4 separate regions of the Homo sapiens genome follow, and all the other regions are linked to region 1. The links are contacts of gene promoters, found by promoter capture Hi-C in blood cells and fetal thymus (Javierre and others, 2016). All regions are on one chromosome and are shown on one strand. Each heading gives the region's core, a stretch centred on a gene start or on the middle of the fragment in contact. The rest is flanking DNA. Distances are from core to core; before and after follow the strand shown. Region 1 holds the start of ATP5MC2 (ATP synthase membrane subunit c locus 2). Region 2 overlaps ATF7-NPFF (ATF7-NPFF readthrough). Region 3 overlaps ATF7-NPFF (ATF7-NPFF readthrough). Region 4 overlaps ATF7-NPFF (ATF7-NPFF readthrough).

What was found. The method cuts DNA at HindIII sites, captures the fragments that hold promoters and counts their contacts. A CHiCAGO score of 5 or more calls a contact.
Region 2: a fragment that was not itself captured here is called in contact with the fragment with the promoter of ATP5MC2 in region 1 in 16 of 17 cell types (endothelial precursors, megakaryocytes, naive CD4 T cells and 13 more); the score reaches 17.4 in endothelial precursors.
Region 3: a contact is called between a fragment that was not itself captured here and the fragment with the promoter of ATP5MC2 in region 1, in 6 of 17 cell types (megakaryocytes, endothelial precursors, erythroblasts and 3 more). The highest score is 10.5, in megakaryocytes.
Region 4: a fragment that was not itself captured here is called in contact with the fragment with the promoter of ATP5MC2 in region 1 in 3 of 17 cell types (endothelial precursors, megakaryocytes and erythroblasts); the score reaches 7.9 in endothelial precursors.

What each region holds. Positions count from the first base shown.
Region 1 is chr12:53,674,635-53,677,519 of GRCh38, reverse strand. ATP5MC2 (ATP synthase membrane subunit c locus 2) reads left to right here and starts at 1,437. Exons shown (of 5, transcript NM_005176.7): 1 at 1,437-1,467. RefSeq lists enhancers at 946-1,175, 1,286-1,735. The HindIII fragment of the contact is 5,549 bases long and covers 1-2,885 here.
Region 2 is chr12:53,552,734-53,555,618 of GRCh38, reverse strand. The region is part of intron 2 of ATF7-NPFF (ATF7-NPFF readthrough); the gene reads left to right. All of the region lies in intron 2 of ATF7 (activating transcription factor 7), which reads left to right. All of the region lies in intron 2 of LOC124902937 (a long non-coding RNA gene), which reads right to left. Among named protein-coding and RNA genes, the nearest start is that of ATF7-AS1, 40 kb to the right of the region's middle. The HindIII fragment of the contact is 4,672 bases long and covers 1-2,885 here.
Region 3 is chr12:53,570,218-53,573,102 of GRCh38, reverse strand. All of the region lies in intron 2 of ATF7-NPFF (ATF7-NPFF readthrough), which reads left to right. The region is part of intron 2 of ATF7 (activating transcription factor 7); the gene reads left to right. The region is part of intron 2 of LOC124902937 (a long non-coding RNA gene); the gene reads right to left. Among named protein-coding and RNA genes, the nearest start is that of ATF7, 55 kb to the left of the region's middle. The HindIII fragment of the contact is 6,274 bases long and covers 1-2,885 here.
Region 4 is chr12:53,590,344-53,593,228 of GRCh38, reverse strand. All of the region lies in intron 2 of ATF7-NPFF (ATF7-NPFF readthrough), which reads left to right. All of the region lies in intron 2 of ATF7 (activating transcription factor 7), which reads left to right. Among named protein-coding and RNA genes, the nearest start is that of ATF7, 35 kb to the left of the region's middle. The HindIII fragment of the contact is 682 bases long and covers 1,182-1,863 here.

The sequences.
Region 1 (2,885 bases), core at 188-2,687:
ATCGGTGTGAAATAACGGGCCCATATAAATCCCTCTGCCGCCCGCCTGCAAGATGGATTGGCCGCATTGAAATTCCTCCGCGAGGATAATTAAACTCGGGGCCTCATCCGGGCAAAATTACATTCCTGTAATGGCGTCGCTCGGGGTCCCGGGAAATTGCTCCGTGGGCTTTCAGCGGCGGTTTTTATCGCCGGCCGGGGTGTGCCTGTCTGCGGCTCGCCTCTCCTCCGGGACCGTAAAGCTGCTGCCGTGATTTATCCTCCCCTTCTCCCAAATCCGATTAAATGGAGGAGCTCGGGGCCGGGGCGCCGCGGGGCCCGGGAGCCGGGAGGGGGCGGCGGGAAGGACGGGGCCAAGGAGGGGAGGACAAACGGCCCCTCAGAGAGTGGCGGATTTGCCTTTATTTACAGCCGCGGCTTTCTTTTTATTTTTTATTTTTTATGGGGTTTGGTGAGCTTTTCCCGTCTTTCTCGTGCTGCGTTCAAGCACGATGCAGGGACGGCAGGGGTTTGGAACTGGATAGGCCTTGTCGCCCTGTTCCAAAGGGCAGGGCAGGTCCTGTCTGGGAGACAAGGAGGCCTAGGAAAGATGAGGGCCAGGAAGCCTCCCCCACCTCCTTCCATCAGGGGAAGGGCGAGCGAAAGGGGAGAGAAAACCCACGTTCAGGAGAGCATGGGGGCGGGAGGGGAGGGCGCTGCTTATCCCAACTCGCGTAGTTGAAACCTGAGCAGAGGCTCGGGCAAGCCTGGAGTGACCTCGCAACCTTACAGCGGGTCGCAGGTGCCCGTTATTCCTAGACTGTCCCAGGAGCCAGGAAAGAGGGATTCGGATCATATTTAACCCTATCTTCTGGCTCGCTGATGCTGCTTCTCTCATGGTTTATCACCGGAATGGAAAGGAGGAAACGGGGAGTGGGGGAAAGGGCGAAGCCACCAGAAGCAGCTGCGGCATTTTGCTGACTATTCGCCCATGGAGCCGGTTTGCCATCCAGTGATGCCAGAGTCCCGGCGCGACAGAAAGCAGGACTCCCAAGATCTTCCTCCTGCTGCATTTTAGGCACTGAACCCCAATCCCGACCGTATGTTAACACTGAATTCTGAGTAGGAGTTTTGTTTTGGCAGTGTGACGACTGCGCATGCTCGGAAAGGGGACGCAAGTCCGAGATCCCAAACGCGGTACAGACCAAACCGCAGTCCACGTTACGGATCGGCTTACTCCGCGGAGTTGGCCTCATTTCTGCAGTCGGCGCTCCCTGTAGTTTCTCCTCTCGAACGCCAGGTGGAGCAACCGGCCGGATACCGCCACAGCCCTGGCAGGCGGCGCTGTGATGCCTGAGCTGATCCTGTATGTTGCAATCACTCTATCCGTGGCTGAGCGACTCGTTGGCCCGGGTCACGCATGCGCTGAGCCTTCCTTTCGCTCTTCCCGCTGCTCCGCCCCTCTCTGTCTTCTCTGCAGTGGGAGCAGGTAAGGCCTTGGGACCTAGAGCCCTCTGTGCGCTGCGCACGCGCGCGGGACACCTCACCTTGCGCGGATGCTTTGAGGCGCTTACCTTGCGTGCTCCCACCCTGGTCCTCTCGCCCTTTCTTGCTTCCGCTATCCCTTAGCCTTAGAGTTGGCTCTTCCGCGTGCCGGTGACCTCCAACCGCGCGGGCCTGGCGCCATCTTGGATGTCTCGCAGGGGGAGGATACCTTGGAGCTGGCCAAAGTTAGATCCTGGAGTGCTGCTTTTCACCTGTTCCACCCAGTCCCTGCAAACACTCTTTTCTCGCCCTCTGGCCCTTTCAGATTGTGACAACCCCCAGGCTCTCCCCTCCTATCTCTGCTTTCTCTTCTCATCCTGACTTGTGCCTTCTTTATTCTGAAATCTCCAGACTTTAGGCCCCAGAACCTCAGGTGCTCCGAGCAATGGAGATAGTGGATCGTCTAAAGTCACCAATCCCTCTAGTCAGCACCCCTCAATTTAAAAAGTAAACCTTGAACATGGTAGAAGTGGGAAAAAAAGCCAAAACATCGCCTCCCGTTAGGTTGTGGCTTGGGATAGCTAAGGCAGAAGAGAGAGGCTGGTTGCTTTGGAATCACTAGTTATTTACCAGTACCTTTCTCGCATCCCGGCACGCTGGTGAAGTTGTAAAAGTCACAAATGGTGGGCTAGAGATGAGGGTTTCTGTTGAGGCAGCAGGCCCAGAAAGGTGGGGTAAGGCCAAGCTAGTGGGGCCAGCATGAGACCCTGCCTGCCAGCTTTCCTGTGAAGGATTAATTAACCTCCCCAGATTCTGCTGTTACAAGGAAAAGAAGGTTTAAGGAAAGGAATAGTTAAGTTACTACCCCTGTGACTCATCTACACTGAGGAAAAAGCCCGTGATGATTTTGGAGTCCTGATTCTGGATAGTGCCTTTGCCCAAGTTGTAGGCTAACAATTGCAGAGTTGCCATGGTTAGATAGCCAATGGTGGGATCACTTAATTGCCACCCCTTGTTGTGGGTTTATTATATGCCAGCACCACATTAAACTCTTTATGTATGTTAATTTGTAAATGAACATACTTAATCCCCCTAAGAGCTGCATTTTACAAAGAAGATAATAAGGTATAATTCCCTTAGAAAAGAACCACCCCTTCTTTTTCTAAAAGCCTTAAAGAACTATTGGATTTTGACCCAAGAAAACCTGAATAGTACGGCAGCAAAATTGGGTTAGAGTTACATATAGGCAAAAATCAGAGTTCTAGATAGGACAAGAGTTGAAGACATCCATTAACTTAAAAGTAATTAAGGCTGGGTGTGGTGGCTCACACCTGTAATCCCAACACTGGGAGGCCAAGGTGGGAAGATCTTTTGATGCCAGGAGTTCCACAATAGCCTGGGCAAAAAATAAATTAAGAGCAA
Region 2 (2,885 bases), core at 234-2,733, 120 kb after region 1:
GAATCACTTGAACTCGGGAGATGGAGGTTGCAGTGAGCTGAGATCGTGCCATTGCACCACTGCACTCCAGCCTGGGCAACAGAGCGAGACTCCGTCTCACAAAAAAAAAAAAAAAAAAAAAAAAAAAATTATATTATTTTCTTCTTTATAAACTAGGTTCTGCTTATTTCCTCTTACCAAATACCTGGCAATCCCAGACCCTCTACAGTGACTTGTTTAACCTACAAATATCATACCCCTGGTTAATACACTATTCCCTCCTTCCCCCAAACCCTCACTCTTTTTTTTTTTTTGAGATGGAGTTTCACTGTTGTTGCCCAGGCTGGAGTGCAATGGCGCAATCTCGGCTCACTGCAACCTCCGTCTACCTGGTTCAAGCGATTCTCCTGCCTCAGCCCCAGCCCCCCGAGTAGCTAGGAGTATAGGCATGTGCCACCATGCCCGGCTAATTCTGTATTTTTAGTAGAGATGGGGTTTCATCATGTTGGCCAGTCTGGTCTCGAACTCCTGACCTCAGGTGATCCACCTGCCTCAGCCTCCCAGTGCTGGGATTACAAGCATGAGCCACCACTCCCGGCCACTTTTTTCTTACGGAAACATCTGTAACTGAAAAAGATGGTGCCTGGAGTTTACCAACAATAGAGAAAACTAAAGTTCTTGGTTAAATTTTTCCACATTTTATTCAGTTTTTGTCCTAGATCAATCAGAAACCACTGAGGCTGTCTTTTTTTTTTTTTTTTTTTTTTTTCTTTTTTTGAGACAAGGTCTTCCTCTGTCACCCAGGCTGGAGCTTAGTGGTGGGATCTCGGCTCACTGCAAACTCCACCTCCCGGGTTCAAGCAATTCTCGTGCCTCAGTCTCCCAAGTAGGTAGGATTACAAGCACCCGCCACCATGCCCAGCTAATTTTTGTGTTTTTTGTAGAGATGGGGTTTTGCCATGTTGGTCATGCTGGCCTCGAACTCCTTACCTTAAGTGATCCACCCACCTAGGCCTCCCAAAGTGCTGGGATTACAGGCATCAGCCACCGCACCTGGCCCTTTTTTGAGAAAGGGTCTCACTGGAGTACAGTGGTGTAATCATGGCTCACTACAGCCTCAACCTCCTGGGCTCCCCCCACCTCAGCCTCCTGAGTAGCTGGAACTACAGGTGAGCATCACCACACCCAGCTAATTTAAAAGTTTTCTGTTGCTGGGCATGGTGGCTCATGCCTGTAATACCAGCACTTTGGGAGGCCAAGGTGAGTGGATCACCTGAGGTCAGGAGTTCAAGACCACCCTGACCAATATGGTGAAACCCCATCTCTACTAAAAATACAAAAATTAGCCGGGCATGGTGGCATGCGCCTGTAGTCCCAGCTACTCAGGAGGCTGAGACAGGAGAATTGCTTGAACATGGGCAGCAGAGGTTGCAGTGAGCGGAGATTGCGCCACTGCACTCCAGCCTGGGCGACAGAGCAAGACTCCGTCTCAAAGATAAATAAATAAATAAAAATAAAACATTTTTGTATAGAAATGGGTTTTTGCCAGATTACCCAGTCTGGTCTTGAACTCCTGGCCTCAAGCAATCTGTCCACCTCAGCCTCCCAAAGTGCTGCAATTACAGGCATGAGCCATCGCGACCAGCCTGGGATTTTGGATCTTAAATTGGCTTTAGTTGTAAATTCAGGTAAAATAAAGTAGTAGAAACAGTTTGGTATTGCTTTCCTGACAGGTAGGAGCTGGATGGGGCCAACTCCCGTGTATTTTGTTTGCAGTCAAGAAGAGCTTTGGAAAAGAAGGCTAAACGTATAGTATTTGGTGAGAAGTATACACGTGATGAAGAAAGTAAAAAGAGACGACTAACCAATCACCATTTTTAGAAGCAAAAAGACAAACGGAACCATGTTTCAGAGCCTCAGTGTGAAGGAGCTGTGGAAAACTGCAGCATCCGGGCTGTTACTGTGTTGCAGTCATGTTTTAATGAAGGAATATGGCCAGGAGCCTCAAAGGGACTTTTGAGAATATTATTCTTTTGAATTACTGCTGTTCATCTGTTCCCTTCACTCTCCCCCTTTTAAGAAGGGGTAGGAGCATAAATTATTGTCCAGTAACCCTATTTTACTTAATCATAAACTGGATAGAGTTAGCCCACTTTTCTTCATTGTCCTTTCACCCAAATCCCAAAAAAATAAAATCTCTATACCATCTCCCTTTCTCTTCCCTCATCCTGCCTACAGGCTCCTCCCTACCCCTAAAAAAATATTTTTTCCTGGCATTTTTATTCTACCATTATATAGTCATCAGCATTGTACTGGCCTTTTTATGGCTGATGGAGCCCAGGCGGGCTGCCCGATGAGGGGAGACAGCATTTGGCCGATGGGGCTGGTATGTGCCATTATTGCTGGCCATTGCGCCTTGGTCCTCTACAGCTCCATCCTGGCTCATTAAAACTCTGAGCCAAATAGCCATGCAGGCGCCTGCTGCAGCACTGTAGGGGCCAAGAAGTTAAATGGTTCTCCTAATCCTGCATAATTTATCTCCCTGTTAGCGCCCTCATAAAAGAGTCCAATTCAGCCCTACCATGGAGGGCTTCATTCTCAATTTCCTATTTTTGTGATGGCCAACTAGTGCCCAGCCCTTCCCTTCTCTATTATTATTATTAAAAATTGCTTCCCCTTGTTCAATACGAGTTTGCCTTAATGTTTTTTTCATTTGGAGCCTCCTACTTGGACCCCACTTTACCAACAATCTGTCCACTTCTGTTGTTTGGACCTGATATTACAGAGCAGTTGGTGTTGTGGTCTTCCCCATCTCCTCTTCTCCCTGCGTTCTAGCACCCTTTTTTCTCCATCTCTTCTCCTCTTCCAGTTTTTTCTCCCTCTCCAGTTCTTCTTTCCAGGGACCA
Region 3 (2,885 bases), core at 225-2,724, 100 kb after region 1:
TCTTTTTTTTTTTTTTTTGGCCGGGTACAGTGGCTCACGCCTGTAATCTCAACACTTTGGGAGGCCGAGGCGGGCAGATCACTTGAGGCCAAGAGTTCGAGACCAGCCTGGCCAACATGGTGAAACCCCGTCTCTACTAAAAACACAAAATTAGCTGGGTGTGGTGGTGCACACCTTTAATCCCAGCTACTCAGGAGGCTGAGGCACAAGAATTGCTTGAACCCAGGAGGCGGAGGTTGCAGTGAGCTGAGATTGTGCCACTGCACTCCAGCCTGGGTGACAGAGTGAGATTCTCTCTCAAAAAAAAAAAAAAAATTAAATAGAGGCAGGGTCTCACTCTATCACCCAGGCTAGTCTCGAACTCCTGGGCTCAAGCGGTCCTCCCACGTCAGCCTCCCAAAATGCTGGAATTATAGGTGTGAGCCACCTTACTCGACCAGTACTCATCTATTTTTGAACTGCAGTTGACTATGGGTAACTGAAACCATGGAAAGTGAAACCACGGGTAAGGGGAGGCTACTGTACTTTTCCCTTTCCCCCCGCCAAAAGCACAAGAAATTTCCCCTGATATTCACCGTAAGAACCTAGTAGAGCTGGGAGAACCTGGAGGTAAATCTCACAACGGTGTGGGGGCTCCTCTGTGACTGGGTCTCCCTGGCATTTTTAACTCTCAGACTTGTCCACACTTGGCCTCTAGCTTCATCAATTATAGTTCAGGTTTTCCTCCCCTGGCACTTGATTGTCATGCAGGTTTCAGCTCATGGGTTTCTGCTCCTTTAGGTTGTGATTCTCTATATCTGCCAATTTGGGGAACAGCAGTTTGCCCTGTGAACTCACTTCTCTGATAGATCTATGAAGAGTTGTTAAGATTTTTCAGTTCAGCTTTTTATTTGTTGTTAGGATAGAGTGACAACTGTTATTCTAAGCTCTTTATATGCCAAGCCAAAAACCAGAAGTCTCAGTCCTTTTGGTTTATGAATCGAGTAAGAAATACATTTTACATTGCAACTTAAAACACTTTTTCTTTTTTTTTTTTGAGATGGAGTCTGGCTCTGTATCCCAGGCTGGAGTGCAGTGGCACTGTCTCGGCTCACTGCAACCTCCGTCTCTCAGGTTCAAGCGATTCTCCTGCCTCGGCCTGCCGAGTGTCTGTGATTACAGGTGTGCGCCACCACACCCAGCTAATTTTTGTATGTTTAGTAGAGACCGGGTTTCGCCATGTTGGCCAGGCTGGTTTTTAACTCCTGACTTCAGGTGATCTGGCTGCCTCAGCCTCCCAAAGTGCTGGGATTACAGGCGTGAGCCACCGTGCCCAACCAAAACACATTTTTTATATAATAGAAATTAGAGAGCCATGTAATAGTATTCACCCTTATCTAGTGTGATGTACTCTGTAGTTTCTTTTGTTGTGGTGGTGATATTTCAGTGCGGATTTGTCTCCCTGCTCCCTTTTTTTTTTTTTTTAAAGAGATGGAGTCTCACTGTGTTGCCCAGGCTGGACTCAAACTTGTGGGCTCAAATGATCCTCCCTTCTCAGTCTTCTGAGTAGCTGGGACTACAGGTGCACACCACTGTGCCTGGCTTTCCCTTTTAAAAAAATGCTGGTTACAGTGGTTTGTGGTTATGGGTATAATTGCTTGGAGTTTGTCACCTATTGTCTGTTATCTGCCTGCTCCTCTGCTGCTCTTAGAATGGAGATAATTATGTTTAAATTATGAAAAGATAATATGTATATTAGTTTCCTGTAGGCGTTATAACAAATTACCACAAACTAGGTGGCTTGAAAGAAAAGAAATTTATTATCTCACAGTTTGGGAGACCAAAAGCCCACCAAGATATTAAAGAGGACCGTATCCTCCTGAGAAGGCTCTCCAGGAGAATCCTTTCCTTGCCTCTTCCAGCTTCTAGTTGCTGCCGGCATTTCTTGGCTTGTGGTTACATCACTTCAATCTCTATGTCTTTCTTCACATTGCCCTCTCCTCTCTGTGTGTTTCTAATCTCCCTTTGCTGCTGTCTTAGAAGGACGCTTGTGATAGCATTGAGGGCCCATCTGGATAATCCCCTCATCTCAAAGCCCTTAATTTAATCACCATATAAGGTAACATTCACAGCTTCTAAGAATTAGAACATTGATATATCTTTGTGAGCTGTTATGGATTGAATTGAATTTTTATGGTGAAGTCTTAACCCCAGGTACCTTAAAATGTGACCTTATTTGGAAACAGGGTCATTGCAGATGGCATTAGTTAATATGAGGTCATACTGAAGTAAGGTGGGCCCCTACTCCAATATGACTGGTGTCCTATAAAAAGAGGAAATTGGACATACACACACACACACACACACACACACACACACACACACACGCACACAGGAGAACACTATGTGAAGGTTGGATTTATGCTGCCACAAGTCAAGGAATGCCAAAGACTGCCAGCAAGCCAGAAGCTAGGAGAGACATGAAACACATTCTTGCTGACATCCTTCAGAAGAAACCAACCCTGGTAACACCTCTGGCCTCCAGAACTGAGAGATAATAAAGTTCTGTTTAAGCCACCTGGTATGTTGTATTTTGGCAGGACAGGTCTATACTGGAGGCATTACCGGCCTACTATACTATGGTTGAAATCTGCATTTGCTATACTGTAGTGAGTTGTTACCTAGAGGTGAGGACTGGAAGTTCCAACCTCTTAGCCCCTGCCTGACACCCATCAGTATTTTTAATGGCCTTTGTATTTTCCTTTCTCTCCTCTCTTCCCCTAGGCTGTTGTAATGTGATATGAAGGTTAATAGGATCCCATTAGCACTTCCTGGTTTGTCTACATTATGATATAATGGAGTGGCAGGTTCTATATAATTGGAACAATTTGTTATCATTTTAGACC
Region 4 (2,885 bases), core at 273-2,772, 84 kb after region 1:
CTTGCTGTGCTGCCCAGGCTGGTCTTGAACTCCTAGCCTAAAGCAGTCCTCTCACCCGAGGCTCCCAAGTACTTGGGATTACAGTCATTAGCAACTGCACCTGGCACAAAGTCTTTTAAAGTGGACTTTGTAATATTTTAAGAAAAGCCCCATGCTCTGGAGTTCAGTCATACTGAGATTTTAATCCTAATAGAGTCTTTATAACCAAATGATAAACCTTTCTGAAAGAATTACAGTGCTAGTCGACATTTGGTTAAATGTCAGGCCTTTGGTTATGTCTAAAAACTTAACACATAAAGTATAGTGTTTGCCAATATTATTTATAAAGCAAAATATCTTTATTTTTGTCCTCTTTCCATTAATTTTTGTGAAAAGGTTATGTATTTAGTTTGGGGGAAAATGTTATTCTGATTTTCTGCTTATAATTTTCTGTGCTGTTTTGCTATTACTAATCACTTTGCTTCAGTACCTATTGTACTAGTGTACTTAGTACAATAATACATGTTTTTTAAAATCACAATAGAACTCATCACCCCCAAATTTGAGGGTTTTTTTTCTTTGTTTGCTATCATAAGATAACAACACATGTTTTAAACAGAAATTGGGTATCTTAACTGTCAAGCCTAGTTTTCTTTTGTCTGTTGGGGGTTGAATCTATTTAACCACAGAGAGCTTGTCCTTTAAATCGTAGCATGTGGATGTTACTTTTGAGGTAGAATGTGTAGAATGGTTTTCTGTTTCAAAATCTCATCTTGAAGAATTGACATACAAATTGTGAAGAAGAAATAGTTTTAATAGTTTATTGTAGGGAGATGTTGCTTTTTAAAGTTTTGTCTCAAAATTATCATGTTAAGGATAGGATTTCAAGAAGGAAAGCATCATGGAGAAAAGATAGAAGCTTTGAGGTTTATCTCTTTGTAACAGTGCCTTTGTGTTTTTACTTCGAAATTTCTTTGTGCAGTGAAATATGCTACCTTTGTATTTGTGCTTTGGTAAGAATGTGGACTGTTTGCAATTGTCATGTGAAAGTACAAAGAGAATGAGAATGAATTTTGTGAAATTAGCTCATTCCCAGTCTGGCACACCATGTGCCCTGTGTGACTGCTGATTCTGCTGGCAGATTGAAGTGCCGAACCAACTTCTGCTCTAACTGCTAAAATTGCCAGCCATCATTCCAAGCTTTTAAATCTTGTTGTTCACATCAGCGATGTCAGATTTTGAGCAAACATAGCTCTGTCTTTAAATCCCAGTGGAATTTGCAATTCCCTGGATTGAAAGGAAAGAGTTGTTCCTTTTTGCCTTTGAAAAACTTGAGTGGCTGTGCGGGGAAAGTCAGCAGAATAAATCTGCAGCCTTGCTGTGTCCTTTGAGTCATTGTAGAAAGCTGAGTGCTCTGTTCGACATTCAGCAGATTGGCTGTCAGAGTTGCACCGCTGCTTATCAAAGACATGGTCTCTCAAAGAGCCATTTATGTTATTCCAGAGAGAATCATCCTGTGGCAAAAGGAACACCTCCTTTCTCCTCCCAAGGGTCAGATCTTCTTTTGATACTGGGCAATTATCCCTTGCTTTTCCTGAAAAATAGCTCAATCCACTATAAAGATTGGCACCAGCACAGGTTGCTGATTTGGTTACAATGACAAGCTCTGATTCCTTAGCCACAGGGAGAGGCATCAGGGTGATACTCGTAAGTATGCCAGAGGCTTAATGGTGGTGATTTTTCTGCTGAGAAACTCAGTGTCCCTTTTAAGTGTCTTGGCTTCTGTTCTCTTTCTGTGAGGGAAATAAATTTGTTTTAGTTGTTTGCACACTAGTCACTATAAAATGCCACTATGAGGTTGTCTTTCCTTCACTTCCTCAAGCTTCTTTCCTGTCTTTAGTTATTGTCCTTTAGTTACTGTTTGAGATCAAGCCCTACAGTCTAATTTTTTACATTTTTATGTCCTTTTTATACAGCTTATCTTGGCTCTTATTAGCCGTGGTACTGGTGGGGATTATTCGCCAGTGTTTCCTCTATTTAAAAAAATTAATAGACTTTATTTTTTAGAGCAGCAGTAAGCGTATAGAAAAATTGAGTGCAGAGTAGAGTTCCCGTATACCTCCTCACTCCACCCCTACTCACAATTTCCTTTATTGTTAACATCTTGCATCAGTGTGCTATATTTGTTACAATTGTTGAACCAAATATTAATACATTATTATTAACTAAAGGCCATAATTTTCATTAGTGTTCACTGCCTATACATTCTGTGGGGTTTCGCAAATGTATAATAATATGTATCTACTATAACAATACCATATGGAATAGTCTCACTGCCATAAAAATCTCCACCTATTCATCCCACCCTTCTGAACCCCCGGTAACCACTGATCTTTGTACTGTCTCTGTAGTTTCACTTTTTCTAGAATGTCATGTAGTAGGAATCATATAGCCCTCTGATTTTTTAAAGTTGTGAGTAGATAAGCATGTGATTGGAAATTGCTGGAAAAAAATGGGGAGAGGAAATTAGACGTGGGAGACTCCACAGCTCCAAGTTCTATCTAAAACTCCAAGCATTTATCCAGGGAGATTTAGGTGGCCCAGCCTTTCTTCTTCTCTGTTGGGAGTCTCTCTGATGTTATAGGAATTAGCTTGCCTAGTGACAGTTTTATTGGTTCTAGGTGTTAGGAGCAAGGACAAGATGAACACTGAATGGGCTGTATCTGGGGAATCAAGGTATTAGGGTTGAGCAAAAGCAAGAGGAAGTAGAGCATTTGATCTCTTTTCCTTTGATTAGGTTGAGGACAATAAAGTCTCATTCTCTCCCTTCTTCCCATGGGCAGCCTTATATATGATTGAAGAACATTAGTGCAAAGATTCCTCATCCAGAAATAAACTCTTGTACT